4 separate regions of the Homo sapiens genome follow, and regions 2, 3 and 4 are each linked to region 1. Evidence: promoter capture Hi-C in 16 types of primary human blood cells and fetal thymus (Javierre and others, 2016). All regions are on one chromosome and are shown on one strand. Each heading gives the region's core, a stretch centred on a gene start or on the middle of the fragment in contact. The rest is flanking DNA. Distances are from core to core; before and after follow the strand shown. Region 1 holds the start of PALS1 (protein associated with LIN7 1, MAGUK p55 family member). Region 2 overlaps SRSF5 (serine and arginine rich splicing factor 5). Region 3 holds the start of FNTB (farnesyltransferase, CAAX box, subunit beta). Region 4 overlaps MAX (MYC associated factor X).

Region 1 (3,495 bases), core at 443-2,942:
ATACTGGGGAGGCTGAGGGAGGAGTATCGCTTGAACCCGGGGAGCGGAGGTTGCAGTGAGCCGAGATTGCGCCACTTTACTCCAGCCTGGGCAAAAGAGCGAAACTCCGTCTCAAACAAAAACAAAAACAAAAGAACTTAGAAAAGGAAGTAAGTCACACACAGTAACCGTTTTTTCTTTTGGGGTATGGCTAGTAGTTTCTAGGAATCCTGGAGACTTTATCTGGATTTCAGTTAGGCATTTCACCAGTTCTCATGGCATCTTTATGGAGGAATATGGGCCAAGAAGACAGTTCGGTTGTGTCGTCCACCTGTATTCGAAGCCTACTGAGAAATTTTTGATGGCAGGAGCATTAAGGTCTTTAGTGGCATGCAGCAGAGTTCTGTCCTCCGCTCTGTCTTATTAAACACTTGGACAGAATGCTGATCAGATTTGAGAAGGATAACAAATCTGGGAAGGGTAGGCATCCCCAAAGATCTTCACCACCAGGAACAACGGTTTGCTTCGTTCAGGCCATCACAGTGTCCTTAGTGAGGGACACCACAACCCATAGGCTGTCCAGAGGAGCGTAATGGGGAAGAATGTGAAAGAGCTTGAAAATCAGGACCTGAGGACATTGCGAGATGGAAAAACACCGTGGGACAAAATGAGGAAAACCGAGAGAAATGGAAATGGCATATACGAAGGCTTTGAGGGAGGACTGTGCCCCTGGGGGAAACTGTGCCCCCGGGCTGGAGTCACAGGCATAGTTTGGCCTCATAGAAGGAGAGGTCGATTAACAAACCTTGCAAGTGTTCAAATGTGGAATGGGCTTGCTCGGAAGGTACTGTCAAGACAGAGACCATCCGAGGGCTTTTATTGCAAGTGTCGAGACACATTGCTGGTGTTTCTCCTTAGAACGTCCTCCAATCTGCTCTGACTTCCGCCCGCACCCGCCTGAGTCCTGCCCCATTCCAAGGGTGGCACATCCAGGTCCCGAGGGCGCCAGCCATGCCCGGAGCACGGGCTGATCTGCGTAACTCTGTCCCTTCGGGAGACTTCTGGGAAATAGTTCTAGTCCTTGCTATCCTTGCTTTCTGGTTTTCAGAAATCAGTGCAGCTGCTGGCTTTATGCAGTCTTCTGCGGGACACTGCACACATCCAGGTGTTTATGTCATTTTTTAAAAAAAACAAATGTTAGATTGGGTGACTAACTTGACAGGACATGAGGAATCTCTTCAAGAGGAATCAGATTTTCTTCAGGATACGTCATCCAGAGACAAGAGCCAAGGGATGTAGAAACCCAGGGAAGCCTCGCGTCCCCACAAAGCCCGCCGGCCAAATCCCGAAGGGGCTCTACCGGGCCAGCTAGCCCGGAGCAGTCCGCGTTTTAGACTTAGAGGCGCGCGACTGCGCGCACCCGGCTGGAGCTGCGGAGAGGACCAATGAGCGGGCGCTCTCTCCGCTCCGGCTCGGGATTGGGCAAGCCGCGCCAGCCTCTCACGGGCGGGGTGGGACTCGGATCCGCGCGCCCACTGCGCCAGAGTCCCGGGGGCGCGTGCGCGGTCTCGCGGCGGCCGCAGGGGCCGGTCTCGCGCGGTCTAGAAGTGGAGTTGCTGGCGGCTGCGGCGGTGACGGCGGCGACGGAGGAGGCAGGCGGTGGGGCGGGGGCGGGGACTAAGGATTCTGAGGTGGGGAGTCGGGAGTTTCTGGATTCTTTATCCGGAATTTCAAGGGCCGCCGGAGGGCTGTCGCTTCTGCAGTGCGTAGGAGCGGCCGGGGCGGGAGGCTCCGCGGAGCCGAGGCGTGGAGGTAAGAGGCGGATCGGCGGCGGCTGGGCTGTAGAGATCTTAATCAACAGGTCCCTGGGAGCGCGGCGGGGGAGGGGCGGGCGGCCGGGCTCCCCTTCCCCCACACGCTGCGCAAACTCCGGCCAGCGGGAGACCCCTGGCAGCCAGGCGGGCTTCCTCAGGCGCGCGAGCTGCGGCCGTGGAGGGTGTGAGCCCAACCTTTGTCCCTCGGAGCAACGCTGCCTGCGCGGTGCCCGCTCCTTCTGCTTGGCTGGGCATGCACCTTGGCGCGGGCCACAGCCAGCCGAGCCCGAGGTGCAGGGGGCGCGGCGGGGAGTCGTCTGCCCCCTGCGCCCTCTCTCCGAGGTCGCGACGCGCGGGACTCTCCCGGCCGGGTCTGGGAAATCGGCGAGGGAACGCTTTCCTTTAGAAGTCAGAATGTAGTCAGCGTTCCTCTGCCTGACTCAGCTGCTGGTATTCTGCTGCTCATTGCGTTCTTAAACACGCAAACAGTTCCTGCTTCCTTGTGACCACTTTAAAAGAAAAGCCTAGTTTTGTTCATGGTTTCTGATACTTTAAGGTTGCACGTTGAACTTTGAAGCATGTAAATTGTTATAACCTACGTTTAATGAAGTTTGCTTTAAACGATCTTTGTAGTAAATTATGTAACTTTCTAATGATCATAACTCACCTTCTGTTGATTGACATACAGTAATGTGTACGGAATGTAGGTTTCGGTCAAAAGGTTTTTCTTGGCAGTTTATGCTAAAATTAAAATCTGATGGCTAGGAAGTTTTTAGATGTAGTATGGAGTGTGTGTTTTGTCTCCATACTCGTTTAGAATAGTAAGAATTTAGATTTGGAAAGTCAGTTGAACAAAAATTTTGAAATTTTGATTTGACTGACGCAGTGAAAGGTGTTAATATTTCTGATTTTTTAAAAAAGCAATATCATGTTTTAATGATAGTTTACTAATTATGCTTTTGGATTATACCAGAAGTTAATAACCTGTTAAATTATGCAATAGGAACAAATGACGTGTTGGTTATTGGTGTCTTTGAAGTATTGGTGGTAATGAAACTTATTAAATAAGCTTCCTTGAATTAAGAACTACGATTTTTTTTTTTTACTAGATCCCTGTGGACATAGCTATTGTGGATAGGTTTTATAGGCTTTCTATTTGCGGCAGGATGAGCTATTAAATTATAATGTAAGAGATTTATAGATAAAACAGGCAAAAATAGGAAAAGCAATTCATTATTTTATCTTTAAAAATCTGGTAAATTTTACCATGTACCTGAATTAGTTTTGGCAAGACGGACTTGAACTTGACAAATTAAGGTGGATTGATTAACATTAATTTGTTTTAGAATGTTAAAACGGGAGAGAATATATAAGTTCTACTTGAGGGTGACCCAAGTCAGTACAGTGGGTTTAGCTTTTACATGATCTTGAATTATGATTTTGATTAAAAATCTCATCACAGGGGCACGTGTTTTCAGGATCTCCTGAGGGCTGTGTCATGGAAAAAATAAAATTTATCACCCATTCCAAGAAATTTGATCAATTTTATATATTATTTACTGAAATGCCCTATTTCTCTGATATTTTCTGATTTCAGAGTGTCTAGAAAAAAATAGTATCTTGACATATGTGCTTATATAGAATATAATTGTCTTTTCTTTTTTTTTTTGTGAGACATAGTCTCGCTCTTGCCCAGGCTGGA
Region 2 (3,495 bases), core at 459-2,958, 2.5 Mb after region 1:
CGCTCAGATCGTGAGCGGCCGGGGCTGCTCTCTTTGCGGAGGATGGCGTCTAATGAGCGCAGTTGATTCGAGGTGGGCGCTGGGGCACGTCTCCCTTTTGGCATACTGTTTGAGGGGTACTGAGGTGAAAGGGCGGTCACTGTTCGGGTCGTTTTTACACAGCGGTTGTGCGCCCGTCCCTGCCAGTCTTAATGTCTTCATCTCCTGGACACGTAGAATAGTGGGCCGGGATCTCCCTGACTTTGCTGGCGATGCGGCTGGGCCTTTTGTAGGGCGGCCGCAGTGACCCCCGAGAAGGGGGTTGCTGGGAGGAGAAGGGAAGAGGGAATTTGGCACGCGCAGCTCTGCTGCCTTTGATTCCACCGCCGCCATTTTGTGGCCGCAGAGCGCCCGCCCGCTGCTGTTGGCGCAGGCGCGGTCGAGGCGTCGCGAGATTCTGGCTTCCACCCGCTGTGACGCGCCCGCGAGGCCGCCATTGGGCTGGCTTTGCGGAGGGCGCGGGCGGCTCCGCCCGCACTTCTCGGCCTTTCCTAACTGCGGCAGATGGGAGGGGGCCGGAGAGCCCGGAGAGTGTGCGGCTGCGCAGTTGGAAAGGTGGCAGTGGGCGTTGCGGTTGCTGCGGTCTGGGCCCAGTAGCGGACCGTGTTGGGAGGGAGCTGGGTTTTCATTTTGTCTGCAGGTAACCTGGCCTCATTAGAGGCTCTGTTGGCAATCTCGTTCATAACATCACTGTGTAAACATTTTATGCCGTTGATGTTTTTGATTGTTTAATCAGGCGTTTCTCTGTGACAGTCATTGCTATTATCTCGATTGAATTACTTTCTAATAGGAAGTACTAGCCGGACATCATGAGTGGCTGTCGGGTATTCATCGGGAGACTAAATCCAGCGGCCAGGGAGAAGGACGTGGAAAGATTCTTCAAGGGATATGGACGGATAAGAGATATTGATCTGAAAAGAGGCTTTGGTTTTGTGGTAAGTATTTAGAACTGGGTGAATTATCTGCTAAGTAGGTAGAGTTTTGATAAGCAGTTGTTTTCGATCTTGAGTCCGGGTGGAATATTTGCCTTCAGAAAATGTTACCCAGCCTTATGTCTGAATTTTATTGAGGCTGAAAACAACTTTAACTTGCCGGCTCACTGGAACCCCACTCCCAGTGGCTCCTTGATTAGGTTTGACTGTATGGCAGTGTCGTTAAGATACTCTTCCCATTCTGTCTCCTGATTTCAGTGCTCTTAATGTGTTGTAGAATACTCTTCTAAAGCCAATGTTAAGAGTCTTATGCTTACATTTTAGGAATTTGAGGATCCAAGGGATGCAGATGATGCTGTGTATGAGCTTGATGGAAAAGAACTCTGTAGTGAAAGGTGAGATTCCTGTGTAACTAGATAACCCTGGGACATAGAGCAGACTGGGTCTGCTGGCATATTTTTCTAAGTAGATTTATGTAGCTTAAGTGTGTAACGGAGATTTTTCTTCCCTTTTTGTAGGGTTACTATTGAACATGCTAGGGCTCGGTCACGAGGTGGAAGAGGTAGAGGACGATACTCTGACCGTTTTAGTAGTCGCAGACCTCGAAATGATAGACGGTATGTGAAGGGTGGATGGCTGCATTGAACAATTATTGTAGGGGTAGCATTTAAGATTCAGGAGTCATTAGCAGTGATGATTTTGGGTCCTGCCGTATAATCTGTTCTTCTATTCCCACGTTAGCCAGTTGTTCTTGATGAATCTATATGAGTCATAGAACACAAATCTATTGACGGAAGTCATTAGAATGGCTTGTGATATCTGATGGCTTGAACTTGCCCACAGTTGAACACAAGTGCTGTCATTGCATTTCTTCCATTGTGAATACGAATTTTCTTCCTCAGAAATGCTCCACCTGTAAGAACAGAAAATCGTCTTATAGTTGAGAATTTATCCTCAAGAGTCAGCTGGCAGGTTTGTTGAAATACAGTTTTGAGTTATTTTGATGTGGCTTTTTAAAAAAGTTAATGGGTAGCTAATGTTGTATTGTTTTATTAAAAGTAGTTTTAAATTAATGGATTTAATGGAATTGTAATTTTAAACATTTAATTAAATGTAATTTGGGGGATATTTTGAACTTTAATATTAGTGATCAAATGTAAATGTTTTGAGGATATTTTTCTTGTTTTTTAAAATCAATTTTTAACCAAATATTAAACCCTTTATTTGCCAGCCTGTCTGTGTCGTTGGCCTTATGACGAGGAGTGCCTGTGGGTTATCCTAATCGTTGTCTTGGTCACTCTTGGTTGGGCCTGGTTGACTTTGCCAGTCAGCTCCTACAGTGATCAGTTGGCCACCTCTAGATCTGTGTTTGCCGGTCTAGACGTTATCGGTGCACTTCCTTGAAGTGCCAGGTTGCAGCGATCCCAGAGCGTTGATAACGTGATCTGATCCCTAAGTTGAGACCTGTCTTCCTGTAACGCTTCCGAATAAGAGGTCCGGTCGAAAAGAGTTGAAAGATACGAAATTAGGTGGTCGTTGGAATCCTGATCGCAGTAAAGTGGTCCTTGGTAACTGCTCGAGTAGAACATGTCTGCATCCGCCAATAGTCCGCTAATAGGGAGGGCTGTGCGATTAAAGGCTTCCATCGATTGGGTAGTGTCCTTCAAGTGGGTGGCGAAGAGCCAGTCGGGCATATGTCATGAAGGTTTCTCCGACCGATTAATGGTTTGCTGCTTGACTAGCCTAGGGAAATAATAATAAAGGTAAAGTAAACTTTTTTAATGACATATGGGGCACAAAATAACTGGTGTCTTGTAAATGTTCTGTTTTTTTAAATAAAACTTCTCTACTTTAGTCTTTACTTTAAAAATATGTACTGTTTCCTTTTTTGTTGTTTTTTTGTTTGTTTTTTTTTCTTTTGTACTGAGCTCAGCATAGACTAATACTACCTTAATGTTAAAATCTGAATTTCTTTTAGCATTTTGCTTAAAAGCAATATGCTATTTGCTTATTCCGTGCCCTGACATAGATAATTTTTGAATTCTGATAGAATACAAGTGTGGTAAATGCCATGTTTGTACTTTATCTAACATCTTCTCTTTCAGTAGTCTTGTTTTTTTTATATCATGTGATTGTTTGTGTGTCCCCTTTCCTCTTCTTTGCTTAACACAATTATCTTGTGTTAAGGATCTCAAAGATTTCATGAGACAAGCTGGGGAAGTAACGTTTGCGGATGCACACCGACCTAAATTAAATGAAGGGTATGTACTGGAAACTGTGAAAGTCTTTAAAAATATCCGGAAAATTTTACTGTGAACTTAGTTTTGAGGACTTAAAATTTGAATATGTTAGAATGCAGAGATTCTCCAGAGACAATTTTGCTGCTTCCCTCCTCCCCCCCACACCTTTGGCAGTGTCTGGAGACAAGTTTGGTTGTCACAACTGGTTGAGAGAGGATGCTGTTGGCATGTAGTCAGTAGGGGCTAGGCATCCTGCTAAGCATCCCACGGTGCATAGGGAACCC
Region 3 (3,495 bases), core at 1-2,500, 2.3 Mb before region 1:
TTGTTTTTTTGTTTTGCTTTTTTTTTTTTTTTGAAACAGGGTCTCGCTCTGCCACCCAGGCTGGAGTGCAGTGGCACAATCATAGCTCACTGCAGCCTCGACTTCTTGGGCTCAAGAGATCCTCCCACCTTAGCCTGTCGAGCAGCTGGGACTACAGGCATGCGCCACCACGCCCGGCTAATTTTTTTGATATTTAATAGAGATGAGGTCTTGCTATGTTGCCCAGGATGTTCTAACTCCTCAAGTGATCCTCCTGCCTCAGCCTCCCAAAGTGCTGGGGTTACAGGCGTGAGCCACCGTGCCCAGCACATGTCTTCTAAAAGCTGCTGTTTCTTCCTTTTTCAGGAGTTCTTTCCCATACTGTTCTTCTGGATGACTCCTCGTCATCCTTCGGATCTCAAATGAAAGGTCATTTAGAGAGGCTTGGCCTGACCATACAATTCAATTAGTTTCTTACCCCTTTAGTCTCTCTCATAGACCCTGTTATTTTCCTTCATCTCATTTATCACAAGTCTTCATATATTTATTGCGTTGGATACATTCAATTCTGTCGATTTTCTTAGAATGTAAGGTTTCCAAGGGAAGGGACTTCGTTTTGTTCACTTTTGTATTCCTAGAACCTAGCACAATGCCTGACACATAGCAGGTGTTCCATAAATATCTGCGGACTGACTGTCTATTTCACTTATCCTTGTTCCTTGTACTGCATTTCAGTTCTCGCTACTGCAGTGTAACCTCCAAGAGACAGGAGAAAATCATAATACCCCCCTCCCTCCATCACTGAGTGATACTGAGACGGCGTCCTTGCACGTTTGAGCAGCTGCTGCCTTCTCCTGGGAGGCTGTCAAGTACCCCAAGGTGCACAATAATTCTTTTAGTAATTGCCTGACTGAGGCAAATCAGTAGAGCTGTCAGAAATGCTTTCAAACTTAACATTCATTGGGTTCTTGGGCACCTGAAATTGCAAACAATTGCATTACAATTAAGTGAGAATTAGCAGAATGTTACAGTTCTTTAACAATTTGCGTAACAAACCGAGGCGTCCTACGCCATCTCGCTGAAATGAAATTCGGATGTAGACACCCTTGCGCTTCAGGACTCTACGCTCTTGCAGCAGCTCCTCTGCCCAATGGGGGGCGGCAGCATCTCAGTAACTCACTCGAAAGACGGGTAGGCGGGAGGAGACATTCGCGTTCAAAATCTTTTTGCCTCTATCCGCTCGCCGTAGCGCTTTAGCCCGCTCGAGTTTCAATGCGCGTTGTTGCTTAACGAAGCAGAGTCCTACACACTGTCTGCTGCTCTCCTGATCATGGCTTCTCCGAGTTCTTTCACCTACTATTGCCCTCCATCTTCCTCCCCCGTCTGGTCAGAGCCGCTGTACAGTCTGAGGCCCGAGCACGCGCGAGAGCGGTTGCAGGACGACTCGGTGGAAACAGTCACGTCCATAGAACAGGTGAGGTGGCAGGACTGGGCGAGGCGCCCGCGCGATGTGTTCTGGGAGCGCGAGTCCCGTTCGTAGGGCCGCCCGGGTGCGGAACTCACCGGGGAACTACGACTCCCACAGCGCACCGCGGTGCCTTTCCTCTGGGAAGCTCCGGGCGCCCAGGCTTGGGCTTCGTCGTGGAGCGTTTGCGCGGCCAGCTTGGGGAAGGGTCGTTTCAAGGTTGGGCTTGGAGGAGAGGGCAGTAGCCGAGTCCCCTCTGCCCTAAAGAACGAGAAGAATCGTGTTCTATGCCTGGAGGACAGAGGCAGCCCGTGCGGGTCGGACAGCCCACTCTGTTCTGCCAGTACTTCGGGAGGTTCTGGGGTGCATAGTGCACTTTTCCCAACCTGCCCTCAGCTTCTGGAGGCAGAGAGCAGGGCCAGGCTGCTGTCATGCCGTTTCACGATCTGTTTAATTTTTGACCTACAGTGCCAGGTTTGGGGGCCCGCCTCGTGGGTGGGCATTTTGGTAGTCATTCAGCCATTTGAGCACCAGCTACGTGTCGGACACAATATTAAACGATGGAAGTACAAGGAAATAAAACAGCTCCTGACCAGGAGCCTGGTTGGGGGACAGGCAGGAAAACAGTTTGGAAAGTGATCTAATAGAAAGAATGGATTTTGGACTACTAATCATTCCCTAAGGCCTAGAAGTAGGATCGAACCTATCATTTTGAAAAGTGTTTGGCGAATGAGTATATATTCATATGCCCAAAACCATAGTTTTGTTTTTCTTCTTATTCCCTAATTGGAATTGTTCCCAAGGTTGCTATGTGGAACTGTTTATCCATCTGTCCCTAGGAGAAGTGGTTAGGATAATTCTTAACACTAATAAATGAACATTCTGCTGCTTACTGAAATAAGATCTCTTAGTGAGATCAGTCTCCAGGCTTTACCTTGGAGAGACCTGTTTTGTATTTCCTACTTTAAGTTGGAAGCCTGTACTTTGGCAAAATTAGTAACAATAATTGTTTTATTGTACAGTTATGACTAAATAGAATTATAAATTTATAACAGAAACAAGGGCTTGATACGTGGTTATTCACAAAGTAGCAGAGAAAATATTTTAACTGGAGATTTAAACTTCATGGAATTTAGGGTAGCAAAGGAAATCCTCACCTCTCGAATCTAGCTAATTCTCCAGGTTGGTTTGCCTACCAGTGTGTCCCAGGGAAGGCTGACTGCAAAAGATTGTAAAGAAATTTCCCATTGATGAAAAACCTACAGGATCTTTGCAGAATTCCTAAATGATGGATTGCTGAGTTGATTCAGGTCAAGTGTTTTACTTATTATCTGACCTTAGACTATGGGATTGCCTTTTTTTTTTTTTTTTTTTTTGAGATGGGGTCTCGCCCTGTTGCCAGGCTGGGATGCACTGGCTTACTGCACCCTCCGCCTCCCGGGTTCACGCCATTCGCCTGCCTCAGCCTCCAGAGTAGCTGAGACTACAGGCGCCCACCACCACGCCTGGCTAATTTTTGTATTTTAGTAGAGACAGGTTTCACCATGTGGCCAGGCTGGTTTTGAACTCCTGACCTCCAGTGATCTGCCCTCCTCGGCCTCCTAGAGTGCTGGGATTACAGTCGTGAGCCACTGCTCCTGGTGCGAGTATCTTTCAAATCTAGACCCAACGGTATGGCAGACAGTAAAGAATCTTATATTTCTTTTTCATGTTGTTATTCCAGCACACATTATTAGAGTCTAGGATGAACAGTTTCAGGTAGTAGGATGATAATGTTGTATCTCATTTTTGTGGCCTTCCTCACTGTTTTAATAATCATGTTAGTGACCATTTATTGAGTCTCAGCACAGTGCTAAATGCTCTCCATATGTGGTATCATTCAATCCTTTCACTTTTTATGGATGAGAAGACTGAGGTTTAGAGACCTACCACATTGGTAGGTTAATGATACATTCATCAAAAGTAACAACCTTGTTAGGAGGAGTTGTTTACAGAGGATATACTAGTACTCTTTCAGTTTTAACTAAAGCTTCCATTTACTGATAGCTCAA
Region 4 (3,495 bases), core at 431-2,930, 2.1 Mb before region 1:
TTCTAAAGTTGTCCTAATCTTGTTAAGTCTGGATTCACTGTAAAATGAATGTTTACTGAACTATAGTGACATGAAATATGAAGCTGAGAGGACAGTCAAGTTTGGAACACCACATAACCTGAGGGTAGAGGTAGGTACTCTGTATCATACAACTTTAGCGCAAAATTATAGATGCCTTCTAACAGTAGCATGAAATAGTGCGACAGAATTGAACCTATTTAAGTATCTAGTCCTTTTGAACTTACTGTTGTTCCCTCTGATCATCTACATAAAGATAAGTTGGGCTGCGACTATACCTAAGGAGCTTAAAGGCCAAGAGACAATATTTGGCATGTGTCTGCGGCTCCTGTTTGCTATATACTACCTAAGGTGGTTTATTTACATGCAAATTAATTGCCCATCTTTGGTCTCCAGAGCAGCCCAAGATACTCCTGTCTACTAAATCACCCTGATTCTTGGCCCTCCTCCCAGCTAAGAGCTGTGCACCAGAATTACCCACAATCCCTCTTGTTGATACAAATAAAATTCTAATTGTCTGTTTTCTTTCTGGGAGAGCCCTGCAAATCTCAAACAGCTAGAATGAAGTTGCACTTGGTTTCACGTGGACCTGCACTAAAGGGGTGGAGCTAAGTATAATCTAACACCAAAATCATCCCCACAATGCACTACCCCCTCCCATTCACTGAGCTCTGAAAGGACTCAAATGGACAAGTCTCTCGGTTGGAGGATTGTAAGTGAACTTGGCTGTAGATCATGAGCAGAAATCTTGGCTTCTCATCTGGGGAGCCAGCCAAGTTTGAGAAGTTGGCTCAACAAGGAAAGGCAGCAGTCCACTGCCTGGTAGAAAGCCTGGGCTGGGGACTGTTGTTCTCAAAGTAGTGGATGGAATTTCTGTAGTGGTTCCAGGCCCAATTTAACTAGCAGAAGAGTGGAATCTTACACCAATCCCTGCTGCCATGTCCATCCCTGAGCTACTAGTGGAGTCAATTTTAAATCTCTCAGAGACAATGGCAAGGATGTATTTTTCTCTTCCCCAAGCTTGATTTGAAAGAACAAGTTAAAAACATGCAGAACTAACAAGCCTAATTCCAGGCAACTGTGAATTAAATGTTATCACTAATGTTTTGAAAGAGCACATGAAAAACAGAAAAACCTTTACACAAGGCTGAGAATTCTCTGTGGGAAACATTTCCAAACCACAGATCCACCCAGACCAATAACACTGCCCGCGCCTCATCCCCACCCCCATTGGAGGACTAGTTTGCAGGCTTTATCACTGCCTTGTTAACTGTCTTTGCTTGCTGGCAACCCTTTTTGAGAGGGCCAAGATTTCAGAGTTGAAGAAGAAAAACTGGGTGAAGACTCCCAGTGTAAGGCATCTAATATCCTCCCCCAAATGCAAAACTGGTTTTAAAAAACAAGCCCAAACAATTGTCTTGAACAAATAAAACTCTACTCAGATGAGCCTGTACTGAGAATGATGTTCAGTAATGAAAACAAATGGTACGGAAAACCCCCTTGTGGAATTAATTAGGCCCTATTCTAGGAGACCACAGAGGTATTCTTGGACTGTACAGCAGGCTCCCAAACATCTCCCCTACACATCCTATGGTTACAGTGGCTGGATGCTGCCCACTCTTCTAGTACGCTGGATTTGTACGTCTGGATGTCTGCCAGAAAACCCTTCCTCCAGGGCATCCCTAACAGAAATACTAAGGGGCTATGCAGTGGTCCACAGATGCTCAACAGAAACTCCCGCACCAAATCACTTCCAGCTTTGACATCTCTGCCAAAGTTTTTATTCAGCCTCTCAGTTATATTTCTACCCAACTTTCCACACTGGTAGACAGAATAAAAATCTTCACCTACAATTTGTCCATCTTTGACACTACCAAGCACGTGTATCTTAAGTGTTGTTAGATGTTGAAGACAAACATTATTTTGTTAGCCAAGAAGTTGCTATGTTGGCAAGAAGTCATCTAGGCTAAGGAGGTCTGTTCAAAATTGAGGGAAATCTCTTAAAATTATTTCCTTCCAACTTACTGCAGAGAGACTGCATCTTTGTTCAAGGCATCACATCAGTCAGTAATCTTATTTCCTCCAAGTTCTAGGCAAATAGCACGGGGAAATAAATGCTTCATTATTCCAGGATGCACAAGGTTCTCCAGAACAATGCCATGTCTTACAGGCTACCTGACAGCTAACCCCACCTATAAGGGGAACCATCTCAATTCTAATACAGAAAATTCTCAGCATATAGGGAATTAGTTGCCCACTCAATATTTACTACCTTTACAAAATGTGAAGGTTGTATTTTAGAGGGAAGCTTGTGTTGCTTATGATTCTTATCAAGCTATTCTTATTAGAGACTAAGGACACGAGAATACACAGACCCAAAAATCTCATCCGAAAAGATCTATTTCTTACTTCTGATAGATAAGAACAAGATAGGATAAAGCTCAATTTCTAAGCAACTTAAAATATTCATTTTAATCAACCCAAAAATTATAACATAAAATAATAGGCAGGTAGGATGGGATAAACTCACCAAGCTCCCTAAGAGAAAGACATGGATTTCAATTTTCCAATACCTGTCCTGCTTGTAGCTGATTGCCTGGTATACATTTCCAACATTATCTAATGTATGTATTTGTTTTCAAACTTTTTTCTTTTGGTGCCTAAAATAACTGGCAAATGCTATAATCCAAACAGGGCCTCATACTATAGCCATTTCAGAGAAGGATGCCTTGGTCAGGAAATTTTAATTAAAAACCAAGCTGAATTCTTTGACCAACTATTTCACCGTTACTGGCATCTTGGAAAAATTCTTTTAGACATAAGAACAACTTTTACCCTAACACAGGCACATTTAGGAACTAACTCTGGCATTTGTTATCACTGTAAGCATCACTGTCAACACTCTAAGCAGAGAAAAAGTACATGCATTGTGCAGCACTTTTGCCATGCAACTGACTGCAGGTAAAACAGACAGTAGTTTCCTGAGTGAATTCCAATCTCGGAGGCTACCAAGCTCGTTCTCTTCTGAATATTCCTAAAGAAGCAAAGAGCTCTGAGAAGTTAAAAATATTTCATGCCAGAAAGGTCCAGAAGTGGAATTGCACAAATCTGTTTTCAAACCCCTCACAAGTATACTGCAACTGCAACTCAGTCAGGTGCCATCAAGGATGGTCACTGGAAAAAAAATTGCATTTCCTGACCAACACACTAACCCATACATTTCCTGTATACTTACACTCTTTCCTAAAGAAATTTCCCAAACAGAAATAAAGCAAAAGGAAGCCCTTGCAATATAATATACCTGTCCCACAAATTTATCTTTAAAATGCAACCTCTTCCCTCCAAAATATAATAAAAATAACATCAGTGGGATTTTGCGATGTACTGAATTTAGTAGTAAGAATACTCTTTGGGGTTACTTCCTTTAACAAAGCTTACTGGCCATTGGAGAAGCTGTTTTCCGTTTGTACTGAAGCA

Evidence for each region. Contacts are between HindIII fragments. The CHiCAGO score rates a contact against its expected background, and 5 or more counts as called.
Region 2: a contact is called between a fragment that was not itself captured here and the fragment with the promoter of PALS1 in region 1, in 1 of 17 cell types (monocytes). The highest score is 8.1, in monocytes.
Region 3: a contact is called between the fragment with the promoter of FNTB here and the fragment with the promoter of PALS1 in region 1, in 1 of 17 cell types (M2 macrophages). The highest score is 5.2, in M2 macrophages.
Region 4: a contact is called between a fragment that was not itself captured here and the fragment with the promoter of PALS1 in region 1, in 4 of 17 cell types (naive CD8 T cells, fetal thymus, non-activated CD4 T cells and 1 more). The highest score is 6.4, in naive CD8 T cells.

The regions. Positions count from the first base shown.
Region 1 is chr14:67,239,743-67,243,237 of GRCh38, forward strand. It overlaps PALS1 (protein associated with LIN7 1, MAGUK p55 family member), which reads left to right and starts at 1,693. Exons shown (of 15, transcript NM_022474.4): 1 at 1,693-1,791. LOC124903330 (a long non-coding RNA gene) reads right to left here and starts at 1,667. Exons shown (of 2, transcript XR_007064217.1): 1 at 1-1,667. It also overlaps a transcript of GPHN not described here. RefSeq lists an enhancer at 1,045-1,324 and a silencer at 1,305-2,274. The HindIII fragment of the contact is 3,073 bases long and covers 1-2,860 here.
Region 2 is chr14:69,767,309-69,770,803 of GRCh38, forward strand. SRSF5 (serine and arginine rich splicing factor 5) reads left to right here. Exons shown (of 8, transcript NM_001320214.2): 2 at 830-974; 3 at 1,296-1,366; 4 at 1,490-1,588; 5 at 1,874-1,943; 6 at 3,159-3,232. The coding sequence starts at 849. LOC100289511 (a long non-coding RNA gene) reads right to left here and starts at 405. Exons shown (of 1, transcript NR_029378.1): 1 at 1-405. RefSeq lists enhancers at 1-714, 711-760, 3,207-3,495. The HindIII fragment of the contact is 6,506 bases long and covers 1-3,495 here.
Region 3 is chr14:64,985,645-64,989,139 of GRCh38, forward strand. FNTB (farnesyltransferase, CAAX box, subunit beta) reads left to right here and starts at 1,251. Exons shown (of 12, transcript NM_002028.4): 1 at 1,251-1,453. The coding sequence starts at 1,310. The region is part of intron 3 of CHURC1-FNTB (CHURC1-FNTB readthrough); the gene reads left to right. LOC107984655 (a long non-coding RNA gene) reads right to left here and starts at 1,469. Exons shown (of 2, transcript XR_001750792.2): 1 at 1,036-1,469; 2 at 1-955. The HindIII fragment of the contact is 3,816 bases long and covers 1-3,471 here.
Region 4 is chr14:65,095,301-65,098,795 of GRCh38, forward strand. All of the region lies in intron 2 of MAX (MYC associated factor X), which reads right to left. Among named protein-coding and RNA genes, the nearest start is that of MAX, 5.5 kb to the right of the region's middle. The HindIII fragment of the contact is 1,288 bases long and covers 1,037-2,324 here.